2 separate regions of the Homo sapiens genome follow, and region 2 is linked to region 1. Evidence: promoter capture Hi-C in human tissues and cell types (Jung and others, 2019). All regions are on one chromosome and are shown on one strand. Each heading gives the region's core, a stretch centred on a gene start or on the middle of the fragment in contact. The rest is flanking DNA. Distances are from core to core; before and after follow the strand shown. Region 1 holds the start of MKRN1 (makorin ring finger protein 1). Region 2 overlaps AGK-DT (AGK divergent transcript).

What was found. The method cuts DNA at HindIII sites, captures the fragments that hold promoters and counts their contacts. A contact is called where the count stands out against the background at its distance.
Region 2: a fragment that was not itself captured here is called in contact with the fragment with the promoter of MKRN1 in region 1 in 1 of the 25 tissues and cell types used here (mesenchymal stem cells).

What each region holds. Positions count from the first base shown.
Region 1 is chr7:140,476,879-140,483,934 of GRCh38, forward strand. MKRN1 (makorin ring finger protein 1) reads right to left here and starts at 2,627. Exons shown (of 8, transcript NM_013446.4): 1 at 2,282-2,627. The coding sequence starts at 2,466. RefSeq lists silencers at 1,858-1,937, 2,218-2,357, 2,648-2,757 and enhancers at 1,893-2,733, 3,064-3,974. The HindIII fragment of the contact is 9,474 bases long and covers 1,521-7,056 here.
Region 2 is chr7:141,533,128-141,540,183 of GRCh38, forward strand. All of the region lies in intron 1 of AGK-DT (AGK divergent transcript), which reads right to left. Among named protein-coding and RNA genes, the nearest start is that of AGK-DT, 15 kb to the right of the region's middle. The HindIII fragment of the contact is 4,128 bases long and covers 1,668-5,795 here.

The DNA of each region.
Region 1 (7,056 bases), core at 1,377-3,876:
AGACCAGCCTGACCAACACGGAGAAAGCCCGTCTCTACTAAAAATACAAAATTAGTCAGGTGGGCATGGTGGTGCACGCCTGTAATCCCAGCTACTAAGGCATCTGTAATGCCAGAGACTGAGGCAGGAGAATCAATTAAACCTGGGAGGCGGGGGTTGTGGTAAGTAGAGATCACACCATTGCACTCCAACCTGGGAAACAAGAGGGAAACTCTGTCTCAAAAAAAAAAAAAAAAAAATGATAGTTGACATTCCTCTATCTAAAGGAGAAAATAGTTTTAAGTAAGAGATCATGTTGGTACCTAGAACAACCGAAAACAATGTCAAACACTAAAACCCCAGACCTATCAAGGAATCTGCACAACAATAAAAAACTGTCTCAAGCAAAAGCTATACAAAAAACCCCCAAAAACTAGTAAATCTAAGCTCTTTCTTTTCTTTCTTTTTCTTTTTTGTTTTTCTTCTGACAGAGTTTCACTTTCGCCCAGGCTGGAGTGAAGTGGTGTGATATTGGCTCACCGCAACCTCTGCCTCCTGGGTTCAAGCAACTCCCTGCCTCAGCCTCCGGAGTAGCTGAGATTACAAGCGCCTGTCACCACGCCCGGCTAATGTTTTTTGTATTTTCAGTAGAGACGGGGTTTCACCATCTTGGCCAGGCTGGTCTTGAGCTCCTGACCTCGTGATCCACCTGCCTTGGCCTCCCAAAGTGCTGGGATTACAGGTGTGAGCCACTGTGCCCGGCCTAATTTTTGTATTCTTAGTAGAGACAGGGTTTCACCATGTTGGCCAGGCTGGTCTCGAACTCCTTACCTCAGGCGATCCGCCCGCCTCAGCCTCCCAAAATGCTGGGATTACAGGCGTGAGCCACCACGCCGACCTAGCCACCCCGACAGGCCGGTTTCAATCTTTTAAAAGATGTAACTAGCACATATAGATCAACTGTAGCATTGTAAAAGGGAAACAGATATTCAAATAATTTGCTCCATGAGTAGAAACTTTAAAATCATCATTCCTGGCAATATTCCACTTTTACAATCCACCGATGAATAAGACAAGTGACCTGAAATTGCGTTTATGCTTTCTACATCCCATTATGTAAAATAATTAAGCTTATCCTTCACACCTTAAATGTATCATATCAAAGGCTGAGAGACCTTCGAAGGTCGCCAGGATAAATGTATCACATCAAAGACTGGGAAGGTTTCAAATTTCACCCTTAATACTACAAGTTCTAATTAGGAATCATTTTTACATACTTGCATATAAATTATACCACCCAGGTGAAAACCGGCATTTCAGTTGATTTATTCAACTGATAGAAAAAGAAAAGCTTACAGTCGCTACTGATCACTATTTAAAAACCGGAAAATAAAAAACGTACAATTAAATGCCCTCTTCTGCGTAGAGCTAGGTAGTTTTTTACAACCATACACATCCATACAACCGCCATCCCTTAATTTTTCTAATATTTTCGTCTCGCATATCAAACCAAAACCAAACCTCTCTCTCTTCCGGGAGCGAAGAGCCCTTTCACTCCCTTCGGAAGATGCGTAAATTTCAAAAGAGGAACATAGCGCTGGGGGAGGGTAATAATCTGCAGCTCAAAAAAACCGCGGGTGGAGAAGACGACCCCGGCCCCCGAACGCCTGCTTCTAAGACAAAGCTCAGCACCGCCAACCTCGACAAACATACAAAGAAGAAATACAAAAGCTTCTTCTCACAGTTGGGCGGAGGATGGGGGGCGGAGGGACGGAGGGACGTGAAAAGACGTTACAAACGGATGGCACGGAGAGAGGAGAGGGCCGGGAGCCAGGCAAGCTCGCTGGGGCCCTCGGCGGGGTGTCTAGGCCCGGAGAGGATCGCTGGGAGACCGGCCTCAAGTGACCACCTCCCGAGCCCCGGGAGCCGGAGGCAGCGGCGGGGGCATCCTTCCAGCGGCAGGGGAGGAGCCAGCCCACCTCTCCCCGATGCGCTCGCAGCCAGCTCAGGCAGCGCTCAGGGAAGTGTAAGCGGCGGTGCAGCCCCGCGGCTCCGCAGTAATCGCGCACCGCCAGGCCTCCGCGGACAGCGCTGAGGGCTCCGCGGCCCAGCGGGGGTTGACGCAGTGACTGGGGGAACGCGGCGGCAGCGGGGGCCGCGAGGGCTGCAGAGATCGAGACAACGCCGGTCCCCGCCCTCCCGCGCCTCTAGCCGCAGGCCGGCCGCCCTCCTCCCTCCCGCGCCGCAGGCTTGGCCCGCGGCCCCCTCCCCGCGCCCGGCGCTCCGCCGCGCAACGTCCTACCTGCAGGTGACCTGTTTAGTCCAGCCGCCGCCGCTGCCGTCGCTGCCGCCGCCCCCTCCGCCCGCCCCCAGGGACGGGGCGGTGACTGTGGGGATCGGGGTGGGGGAGGCTGCTGCCGCCGTCGCCGCTGCCGCTCCTGCTCCTGATGTTGTGGCTGTTGTTCCGGGAGTTGCAGCCTCCGCCATTACTGTTTATCCCACACAGCAAAGGCCCCGGAACTTCCGGGATCACATAGTTCCGGTCCGGCTGCGGGGAGAGGACGGCGAGGCCAGGCGAGGGGAGGGGAAGGACACTGAGGCACCCGTTCGGTCCCCGCCTGCTACGCGTCGCGTATCTGAGCGCTCTCGCCACTTCAACTGCGGGCCCAGAGCATGCGCGCCCGCGGCCCGCCCACGGCGCCGCTCATTGGTGGAGGGGACGTCTCCTCCGGAAAGGGGCGGGGCAAACGGGGGTCTGTACAGGTGTGTCCTAGGCTCGAAACCCCGGCGACGAAAGTCCATAGTTAGCGGCTTTCTTCCTAGCAGAGGCTGATATAGTGGAGCTGGGGCTGGGGACTAGGGACTTGCAGTCGGAAGACCTGGGTTTGAATCTGCACTTTCCCATTTCTCTAGTAATATTTGAGCTAGGTACTTGTTCTATCTGAGCCTCCGTTTCAGCCTCTCTCGAATAAGGATGACAGCAGACCCACATATGGTTGCTGTGAGGATTATATGATGTCCTTAGAAATCACTGAGCTTAGTGCCTGGTACATGGTAAACACTTAATAAAGGTTATCTCATTCCTGGTATCAGAGATGTGATCTTGGCCAAGTATTTTGGCTGAGCAATGCTCTAGAGGGCTGGTCCCCTTATCTCCAGGCTTCCCTTTCTAAGCCATGGGTCTTCTAGCAAATTATCCTACCTCTTGGTGCTCCTGCTTTCTCCTCTGTAAAAACGACAATAATAATAATAATAGGCCAGGCGCGGTGGCTCACGCCTGTAATCCCAGCACTTTGGGAGGCTGAGGTAGGCGAATCACCTGAGGTCATGAGTTCGAGATCAGCCTGGCCAACGTGGTGAAACCCCGTCTTTACTAAAAATACAAAAATTAGCCGGGTGTAGTGGCTAGTCCCAGTTACTCAGGAGGCTGAGGCAGGAGAATTCCTTGAACCCGGGAGGCGGAGGTTGCAGTGAGCCGAGATCGCGCCACTGCACTCCAGCTTGGGCGACAGAATGAAATTCCGTCTCAAAATAATAATAATAGTAATAGATAATAGTACCTACTTCAGAGATGGCTGTGAAAGTTAAATGAGAATCTGTTTAAAAACCTTTGTACTGGCCGGGCGCGGTGGCTCACGCCTGTAATCCCAGCACTTTGGGAGGCCGAGGGGGGCGGATCACCAGGTCAGGAGATTGAGACCATCCTGGCTAACACGGTGAAACCCCGTCTCTACTAAAAAATACAAAAAAATTAGCCGGTCATGATGGCGGGCGCCTGTAGTCCCAGCTACTCCGAGGCTGAGGCAGGAGAATGGAGTGAACCCGGGAGGCGAAGCTTGCAGTGAGCCGAGATCGCGCCACCGCACTCTAGCCACTGCACTGCAGCCTGGGCGACAAAGCTAGACTCCATCTCAAAAAAAAAAAACAAAAAGCAAAAAAAAAAAAAAAAAAACCCCTTTGCATTGTGCTTTTCACACTGCAGTGAATACATAATGAGTAACAAAATATGTCTGGAATATCCTAGCTTTTTTTTTAATGCGTCTTTAAAATTGTATGTATTTAAGGTGTAAAACATTGTTTTAATATACATGTACCTAGTGAAGTGATTACTACAGTCAAGCAGATTTAGCATATCACCTCACATGAATATTTTGTGTATGTGTTTGTGGTAAAAACCCAAGCTCTACTCTTAGCAATTTTCCAGTATACAATACAATATTATCTATTAACATTAATCATAGTCTTCCGCCGGGCACGGTGGCTCACACCTGTAATCCCAGCACTTTGGGGGCCGAGGCGGGCGGATCACAAGGTCAGGAGATCGAGACCATCCTAGCTAACACGGTGAAAGCCCGTCTCTACTCAAAAAACACAAAAAATTAGCTGGGCATAGTGGTGGGTGCCTGTTGTCCCAGCAACTCGGGAGGCTGAGGCAGGAGAATGGCGTGAACCCGGCAGGTGAGGCTTGCAGTGAGCTGAGATCACGCCACTGCCCTCCAGCCTGGGCAAGAGCGAGAGTCCGTCTCAAAAAAAAAAAAAAATCATAGTCTTCATGTGGTACATTAGATCTCTAGACTTATTCATCCTACACAGCTGCAACTTTGTCCCCTTTGACCTGATGTCCCCATTCCCCACTCCACTCCTGGTAAACCACTGTTCTACTCTGTTGCTATGTATTCAACTTTTTCACATCTTCACGTATAAGTGAGATAATGTAGTATTGTTCTTTGTGTCTGGCTTATTTCATTTAGCATAATGTCCTGCAGGTTTATCCATATTGTGGCAAATAAAGGCTACCACACAGGTAGTAACCTTTAGAGACACAATAGGTGGTAAATGTTTCTTTCAGACTTTTCAAGTTGTCAGACTCTCAGTTAATCTCTCTCAGGTCTGGGGAAGGGAGAGCCCGAAAGAAGGCTCTTGTAAATAGAGCCTTCTATTTTAAGGCTGAGAAATAAGGAATATCCTAGCTTCTGAGGATTACTTTTTTTTTTTTTTTTGAGACCGTCTTGCTCTGTCACCAGGCTGGAGTGCAATGGCGCGATCTCGGCTCACTGCAACCTCTGCCTCCCGGGTTTAAGCAATTCTCCTGCCTCAGCCTCCCAAGTAGCTGGGACTACAGACGTGCGCCACCATACCCAGCTAATTTTTGTATTTTTAGTAGAGACAGGCTTTCACCATGTTGGCCAGGCTGGTCTCAATCTCTTGACTTCGTGATCCGCCCGCCTAGGCCTCTCAAAGTGCTAGGATTACAGGTGTGAGCCACCACGCCCGGCCTGGATTACTTCTAAAACTATGAAAAGTAAAGTGTAGTTAATTTTTAATTTTGTTTAGGGATGAGGTCTCACTATATTGGCCAGGCTGGTCTCCAGCACCTGGGCTCAAGTGATGCTCCTGTCTTGGCCTCCCTAAGTGCTGGGATTATAGGCATAAACTACCATGCCGGGCCTCAGAGTGTATTTAATTATTTTTCCCCATAAGGCCTACTGTCCACTCAGATGCAACATATTAAACTCTGAGTTTCCATAGGCAGTTTTTCATAAGCCCTTAAGTTCGACTTTTCTGTAGTCTCTACGTTGAAAGTGAAAATCAGCCTATTAATCATCAGACCCCGATGTGCCCAACACAGGCAAACAAGGAAGGTGGCAAAAACAACAGAAAAGAATGCATCTCCTAAGGCCACACCACAGCAAGATAACTAACAATCCCCTCGAAGGAAACCAAAATATTTCACTTCACCTCAAAATATACACTTCTGGCCAGGCGTGGTGGCTGACGCCTGTAATCCCAGCACTTTGGGAGGCAGAGTTGGGCGGATTGCATGAGGTCAGGAGTTCGAGACCAGCCTAGGCAACATAGAAAAACCCCCGTGTCTACTAAAAATACAAAAATTAGCTGGGCTTGGTGGCGTGTGTCTGTAATCCCAGCCTGGCCAATATAGTGAGACCTTATCTCTAAACAAAATTAAAAATTAACTACACTTTACTTTTCATAGTTTTAGAAGTAATCCAGGCCGGGTGTGGTGGCTCACACCTGTAATCCCAGCACTTTGAGAGGCCTAGGCGGGCGGATCACGAAGTCAAGAGATCGAGACCAGCCTGGCCAACATGGTGAAAACCTGTCTCTACTAAAAATTCAAAAATTAGCTGGGTGTGGTGGCGCACGTCTGTAGTCCCAGCTACTTGGGAGGCTGAGGTAGGAGAATCTCTTGAACCCGGGAGGTGGAGGTTGCAGTGAGCCAAGATCAAGCCACTGCACTCCAACCTGGACACCAGAGTGAGACTCTGTCTCAAAAATAAATAAATTAATTAATTAAACTTCTTTGACGTATTTTAAGATACCACTTCATAATAAAAAAGAAAAAAAACAAATAAGATACCTCTTTGGAAGGGTTGGAAATACAAGAATAGAAGGAAAGCTGTCTTTTGTGGGAAAGATTTGCATCTGCAGAGAAAATCTACACTGAGGCAGCCCGGCTTTCTTTGGAGCCCTCCCTTCCCCAGATCTAGGAAACATTAGCTGAGAGTCTGACAACGTTTGAAGCCTGAAGGAAACATTTACTACCTATTGTGTCTCTGAAGGCTGCTACCTGCATGGTTTCAATGACCTAACAAGACCACTGTGGCTAGCCAGGCTTCTGCTTCTCTCCATCCCATAACTGCTGGCCACCATATGATTTACCCTTATATCCTGTTTTGGGATATGTTCCCCATTCTTTCAGTAACCTCAAGATGGAATATGAGCTTGCCCTCCCCGTTGAGGGGTTGGGATCATCACTCTCTTGTTCTCCCTGTGCACATTAATAAATGTGTATGCCTTTTCATCAATAATCTGCCAGGGTTTTTGTTTGTTTCTTTGTTTGTTTTGTTTGTTTTGAGACAGGGTCTCGCTCTGTTGTGTAGGATTAAGTGCAGTGGTGCAATCTCAGCTCACTGCAATCCCCACCTCTCGGGCTCATGCGATCCTCCTTCCTCAGTCTTCCATGTAGCTGAGACCACAGGCACACACCCTTACGTCCAGCCAATTATTGTATTTTTGGTAGAGACAGGGTTTCGCCATGATGTCCTAGCTGGTCTC
Region 2 (7,056 bases), core at 2,482-4,981, 1.1 Mb after region 1:
AAAAAAAAAAAAAAAAAAAAAAAAAAAAAAAAAAAAAAAAAAAGCATGCAGTAGATGCTTGAATGAATGGTTGAAGAAGCACAGGATAGGCCGCCAGACTTGGGGACTGAGGGAAGGTGGAGGGAGGAGGCAGAAAGTGAGGGTCATTAATGATCTTTTCATAAGGCCTTTGAGAGACTATTGCCAGGCCCCAGACCCCCTTTACAAACTGCTGAGCACTGCAGGGGGACTATTTGCGTCAGACTCAAGCCAAGACATCTCCAAGATCCCTGACAATAAAGCAAACACTAGGCTGGCGCTGGCTAATAGAGGAACCCAGAGGGAAAAACGCTTTTCTGTTTATGGACAATTCTCCTTCTACAGCCGGATCTTCAGCGCCACCTAGTGGTGTGCTCTTCAGGCTGGCTGCACTACCAAAGCAACCGACTAAGATTCAAATGCCTTGGTTTAAAGCTGCAAGGATTAAAACTTTCCTCTTAAGGTCTAAGATAAGAGACTATGTGGGCATAATGAGCAAATTGAGAGCTTTAGGATTCACATCAGAGAATTCTAAGTCACAAAACTTAATCTCAGCAATTACATACACAGTTAGTAGTAGGATTTTGTAGTTGCCCATACCGTTTTGCAGTTTTGGACATTGAGTAGTTTTGGACAATGAGGCCAAGATCAAAAGTTAAAGCCGTGCAAAGGAAATGCAGCACCAAGAAGGGAAAAAGAGAATCTGATCCAGCCCCTGCCGCCAGGCAGGGGAAGTGTTATTTCCATTTCATATTTAAAGCAAGTAAAACCCTACGAAATGTCCAAGGTCAAATGTCCAATATATGAGGCAAGAACTTGAATTGTGTGGAGTGTGCCTTTTCTTTTGCTATGCTGCTTCAAAGTACCCCTTTTCTTTCAATATTTGCTTTGTTTTGCTACAATTGCACTGATATTCTCCTACCAATGGATCAATAAGCTTCATTTCTATTCTAAACTCACAAACTACAGTGTTCCCCTAAAGGCTTGGGTCATTCTGTCTGTCTCATGCAGGAACTAGAATTCCCTAGAATGTTCATAATGTGAATGGCAATTCATGTGTTATATATACATTAAATATCTTATGTATAATGTTAACTCATATTCCTTTTACTTGTTAACTGACCTTAAATTAGGTCAGTTTCTATATGTAATACTGTAAATATTAATTAGATTGCAGTTAATTTGTTGATAATTCATGGTGATTATATTAGTTATACAATTCACAATGAAATTTTAAAATCTGCCTTTTCTTTAAGAGAATGTGGTTTGGAATTAAATGGAGAACTTACATTTATTCAGCATCAGATATTGACTAGGTGATTTTACATATACTAATTTAATCTTTATGATTAACACTATGAGGTAAGTCAAATAATTATCTTTATATAGATGAAGAAAGAAAGACAGAAATTGTAAATAACCACCCCTAGATAGACACTAAACAGAAGAGCTGGAAATTGAAAGTGGACTTTCTGTCTTGAAGTCAAGTAGTATTTCTACCAGACCTCTTGAATCCACTAGACTCGAAGTCCAGAAGTCTGAGTTTTATTTCCAACTTAAATACCACATACAATGCTGTGTACTATAATATCCTTTTGAAAATTCACTATGCTCATTTGTATATCCACAGTCCTATTGAATTCTAATATAAACATACATGTTTAGCAACACTCATGGAATTATTGTTCTTTCTCGGGGTTTTTTTTTTTGAGTGTGTACGTATATCTATTAACTCTCCTCTGAAATAGTGCTCTATAAAGCACACAGTGATTAGTGCTGGTCTGGAAGATAATATGCTGGAGAGCCTGATTGGAGCGATCTGGACTAGAGAGATAGCTGTGAACTGAATGAGGATTCAGTCTTCCAAAATAGTCCTTGGGCACACTTGCCAAAAACAGCTCACAGCATAATTTTGTTTTAAAATACTTGTTTGTAACCTTGCTTGTTTAAGAAAGAATTAATGTAGGAGAACAGGATTTCAGTGGCATAATGGTTATCACCAGGGCTCTCAATGAGAATGTAAAACGTATCTATGGCCTCCTCTCTCTTCCTTTCTTTGACATCTCTCTCCTCTTCTTGGATTGCTTCCCGCTCTGCTGGCTCATCTTAACCTGCCCCTCCCAGGGCTTACTGGGTTTCAACGTTACCTCTCACACCTCTTCCGAGTTCCTCAGTGCTTGTCAGTTTGATGTTAGGAAAACAATCTAACCAAATTGATATTCATTATATTATGAGTCCTTTGTGCTTCAGGAGTATTTGTGATGGGAATAATTAAGCCTCCTTTAACTGGAAAATTTCAAATAGCTTCAGGGAGGTTTGGGAGAAAGAGCGTCAATGACTGTCTGAGTCTGTAACCCCAAGCTTGTCTGTTCCATTTTCCTGTGTCACATAGCCTCTGCCAGTGGATTCAGTGCTATTTATACTGGGACTCTCATCCCAGTCCTAAATCTAGCATAGGAGCAGACAGATAGATGCCAAAAAAATACAGCAACGATTCATGATAAAAACTCCCAGAAAACTAGAAATGCAAGAAACTTCCTTAACCTGATGAAGAGCACCTATGAAAAATATATAGCTAAGATAACTCTTAACGGTGAGATTCAGAATGCTTTTCTCCCCAAATCAGGAACTAGACAAGAATATCTACTCTCACCAATTCTATGCAATAGTCCCCTTAAATACTAATTGATAATATAAAGAAATAAAGAGATAAAAAATATTGAGATTGAAAAGCAAAAAGTAAAACTGCCCTTATTTGCATATGACATGATTGCATACATGGAAAATCCTAACAACTACAAAATGTACTATACCAAGGAAGTGTATTTAGTAAAGTTACAGTATCCATTTTTTACATGAATGTAAAAAAAAAAAAAAAAGTATATCTAGGCTGGGAGCCATAGCTCATGCCTATAATCCCAGCACTTTGGGAGGCTGAGGTGGGCAGATCACCTGAGGTCGGGAGTTCGAGACAAGCCTGACCAACATGGAGAAATCCTGTCTCTACTAAAAATACAAAATTAGCCGGGCGTGGTGGTGCATGCCTGTAATCCCAGCTACTCGGGAGGCTAAGGCAGGAGAATCACTTGAACCCAGGAGGTGGAGGTTGCTGTGAGCCGAGATCGTGCAATTGCACTGCAGCCTGGGCAACAAGAGTGAAACTGTCTCAAAAAAAAAAAAAAAAGTAATCTAGGCCGGTCAAAGTGGCTCATGCCTATAATCCCAGCACTCTGGGAGGCCAAAGTGGGTGGATCACCTGAAGTCAGGAGTTCGAGACCAGCCTGGCCAACATGGTGAAACCCTGTCTCTACTAAATTTACAAAAAATTAGCTGGGCATAGTGGTAGGCGCCGGTAATCCCAGCTACTCGGGAGGCTGAGGCAGGAGAATCGCTTGAACCCAGGAGGTGGAGGTTGCAGTGAGCCGAGATTGCGCCATTAGTGAAACTCCATCTCAAAAAAAAAAAAATGTATATCTATATTCTAGTAATCAACAATTGGAAATGGAAATTTAAACAATACCATGTATAACAGTACTAAACAGTGGAAAACACTGAAATATATTTAACAAAATATGGTGCAAGACATGTACACTTAAACTTAAGAAACATTACTAAGAAAAATGAAATAATACCCAAATAAATGGAGATAAATACCATATTTATAAATCGGAAGACTCAATTTTATAAAATGATTAAATCTTAAATTGGTCTATAAATTCAACATAATCTGGATCACAAGCACAGTTTTATTTTTTGTAGACAAAAAATAAATTGACAAGATGATTCTAAACTCTGTATAGAAATTCGAAGGACTTAGAATAGCCAAAATATTTTGAGAAAAGAGAACAAAATTGAGGACTTAAACTAGCCAATTTCAAGACTTACTAAAGAGCCTTATTAATCACGATAGCATGGTATTGGCATAAAGATGGACATACAGATCAATAAAACAGAGTAAAGAATCCAGAAAAACTCCATACATACATGGTTCAATGATTTGCCAAGGTAAGTCAGTGGAAGAAAGGATGGCATTTTAAGAAATAATGTTGGGCCAGGCACCATGGCTCATGCCTGTAATCCCAGCACTTTGGGAGGACAAGGCGGGTGGACCACCTGAGGTCGGGAGTTTGAGACCAGCCTGGCCAACATAGTGAAACCCCATCTCTACTAAAAATACAAAATTAGCTGGGCATGGTGGCATGTGCCTGTAATCCCAGTTACTCAGGAGGCTGAGGCAGGAGAATCGCTTGAATACTGGAGGCAGAGATAGCAGTGAGCCGAGATCGCACCATTGCACTCTAGCCTGGGCGACAAGAGAGAAACTCCATTTCAAAAAGAAAAAAAAAAAAAAAAAGGAAGAAAAGAAAGAAAAGAAAAGAAAAGAAAAGAAATAACATTGGAACAACTGAAGAGAGGCATATGGGAAAAAGAACCTCAACCCCTACCTCACACAGTTCACAAATATTAACTTAAAATAGGTAATAGACCTAACCAAAAAATAAAAATAAAAATTATAAAACTTCTGCAAGAAAAAAAAAATCGGAGAAATCGGAATGATATTGCATTAAGCAAAAAACTCTTAAATGGGCCCTACAAATATGAACTATAAAAGAAAAAAAATCAATAAATTGTACTTCACCAAATGTAAAGCTTTTGCTTTTCAAAAAGCACTGTTATAAAAATAAAGCACAACATAGACTGGAAGAAAATATTTGCAAAATATATCTGAAAGGGATTTGTATCTAAAATATATAAAGAACTTTAACAATTCAATAAGAAGAATTTTTTAAATGGGCAAAACATTTCAACAGATGCTTTGTCAATATCTTCCACAGATGATTAGATATATTAGGATGTCTTCAGTTTTAAAACTAACATACCAAGTGCTGGTGAGGATGTGGAGCCATTGGAAGTCTCATATCCTGCTTCCAGGAATGTAAAGGAGTGCAACCAGTTTGGAAACTAGTTTGACAGTGTCTTAAGAAATTAAACACACTTACATAAAACCCAGCCATCACTTTCCTATGTATTTACCCAAAAGAAATAAAAACATAAACATATATCACAAAAAGACTTGTATACAAATGTTGAATGCACCTTTGTTTATAATGGCAAAAAGCCTGAAACAACCTAAATGTCTGTCAACAGGTGAATGAATGAAAAAAATTGCAGTAAACCCATGCAATGGGCTACTAGTCATCAATAAGAGCAAACTACTGAAGCACACAATGGATAAATCTTAAAAAAAAAAAAAACCGTGTTGAGAGAAAAGCCAGAAACAAAAGGTTCTATATTGTACAATTCCATTTATGTAAAACTCTAAAAGATACAAATTAACATACAGTGGTAGAAAGAAGATTAGTGATTGGCTGGTGTTGGGGTGGACTGAGGGAATGTAGGAACTGACTGGAAAAGAATAAGAGAACACTTGGGTGGCAATGGAAATGTCTGTATCTTCATTGTGGCCAGTATAGGAACATACGCATTTATCAAAAGTCATCAATCTGCACACTAAAAATGGGTGCATTTCGTTGTATGTAAATGTTATGCCAATAAGATTTATTTTAAAAATTGTAGTGGGAATGCAAGGAGAAGAAAGGGGGTAATTTTGGTATATTTCTATGTTAGAGTGGGCAGATTTTGAGTAGGTTTATATGCTAAGAGGAAAAGACAGTGGAGATGGAGGGAGAAAATACCAGAGTGAGGAAAGGACTGATGAGGCAGATTTCTCGGGGACGGGAAGATGGGGGTGCCATCCCAAGCACGGGTGGATGGATGAGCTGTGGATGGGAGGAGTGAACATAAGCTCCCTGAGTCTGCAGCAGAGGAAAGTGGTTGTACTATTAAGTTTGAACAAAGACAAATGTAATTTTGTATGTGGGAGGGCAGAAAGCAAAGGAAGTTCATGGCTCATTCAATCATTCAACCTTTATTTATTTTATGCCAGGCACTTTATAAATAAAGATATGGATATTCTGTAAGAAAGAATAATACTGTTTCTGCTCTCATATAATTTAGAATACAGTAGATGGGGGGCATTAAACAATTAAAGAACTAAATACATAATTACAGATTATTATGAATGCCATACAGGTTAAGGAATCTATTAAAGAGGGCAACAGAAGGAACCTAATTTAAACAGATGGCTCAGGGAAGGTCTCTTGAGTGAAGCCACCTTTCAGCTGAGAGGAGGAAGGTGAGAAGGAGTTAGGTGATAAGTGAATGGAATGGCTTCAGTGAAGACCTTAAGGTTGGACAGATTTGGGTACATTTTGATACAGAACAATAATTATATGTGAGTTTTAAGAGATTAATATAAAAAATGAAACCATAGAAAACTCCAAGAAAATATAAATAAATTTTGATCACTAGATAGAGGACTCTCCAAGAATATGCCTGAGATTTAACTACATAAAATTCAAGAGGTTTTTTTCTTTACTTTTATTTCGAAACATATTGTAAACCAAGTGCTAAATATTTGCAACAAATAAGTCAAAGGATTACCATCCTTACTACATAAAGAGCATGTATCAAACTGACAAGAAAAGCATTAAAACATCAACAGAATCCAGTTAGTAGATCATCCTTCTAAAATGATTGATCCTTTAGTCATTTAGGTAAGTTTATAGAATTTTAAAAATAAAAATAAACATAAAAAGCAAGTTGGGAAAATAGAATAAAAATACAAGTAAAAGACAGGCAAATTTCTATGGAAGAGGAAAATGGCTGGATAGATGAAAAAATAGTTTTACTCATAACCAAAGAAATTTAAACTGAAAAAATGAAATACTATTTTCCCAGCAATTAAATAAGTAGACATTGGGCAAAACAATACTTATTGATGGCAAGGGTGCTATGAGAGGCACTATCCAGTGAAGATAGTGGGAACATAAATTGGTTATAAGCTTTTAATTAAAAAATTTGGAAAAATGCATCTGGAACCTCAAATATATTTCCTCTGATTCATTAATTCTAGTTTTAAAAACTAACCCTACATTTATAATAAATGACGTCAATTATTTAAATTTTTTAAGTTAA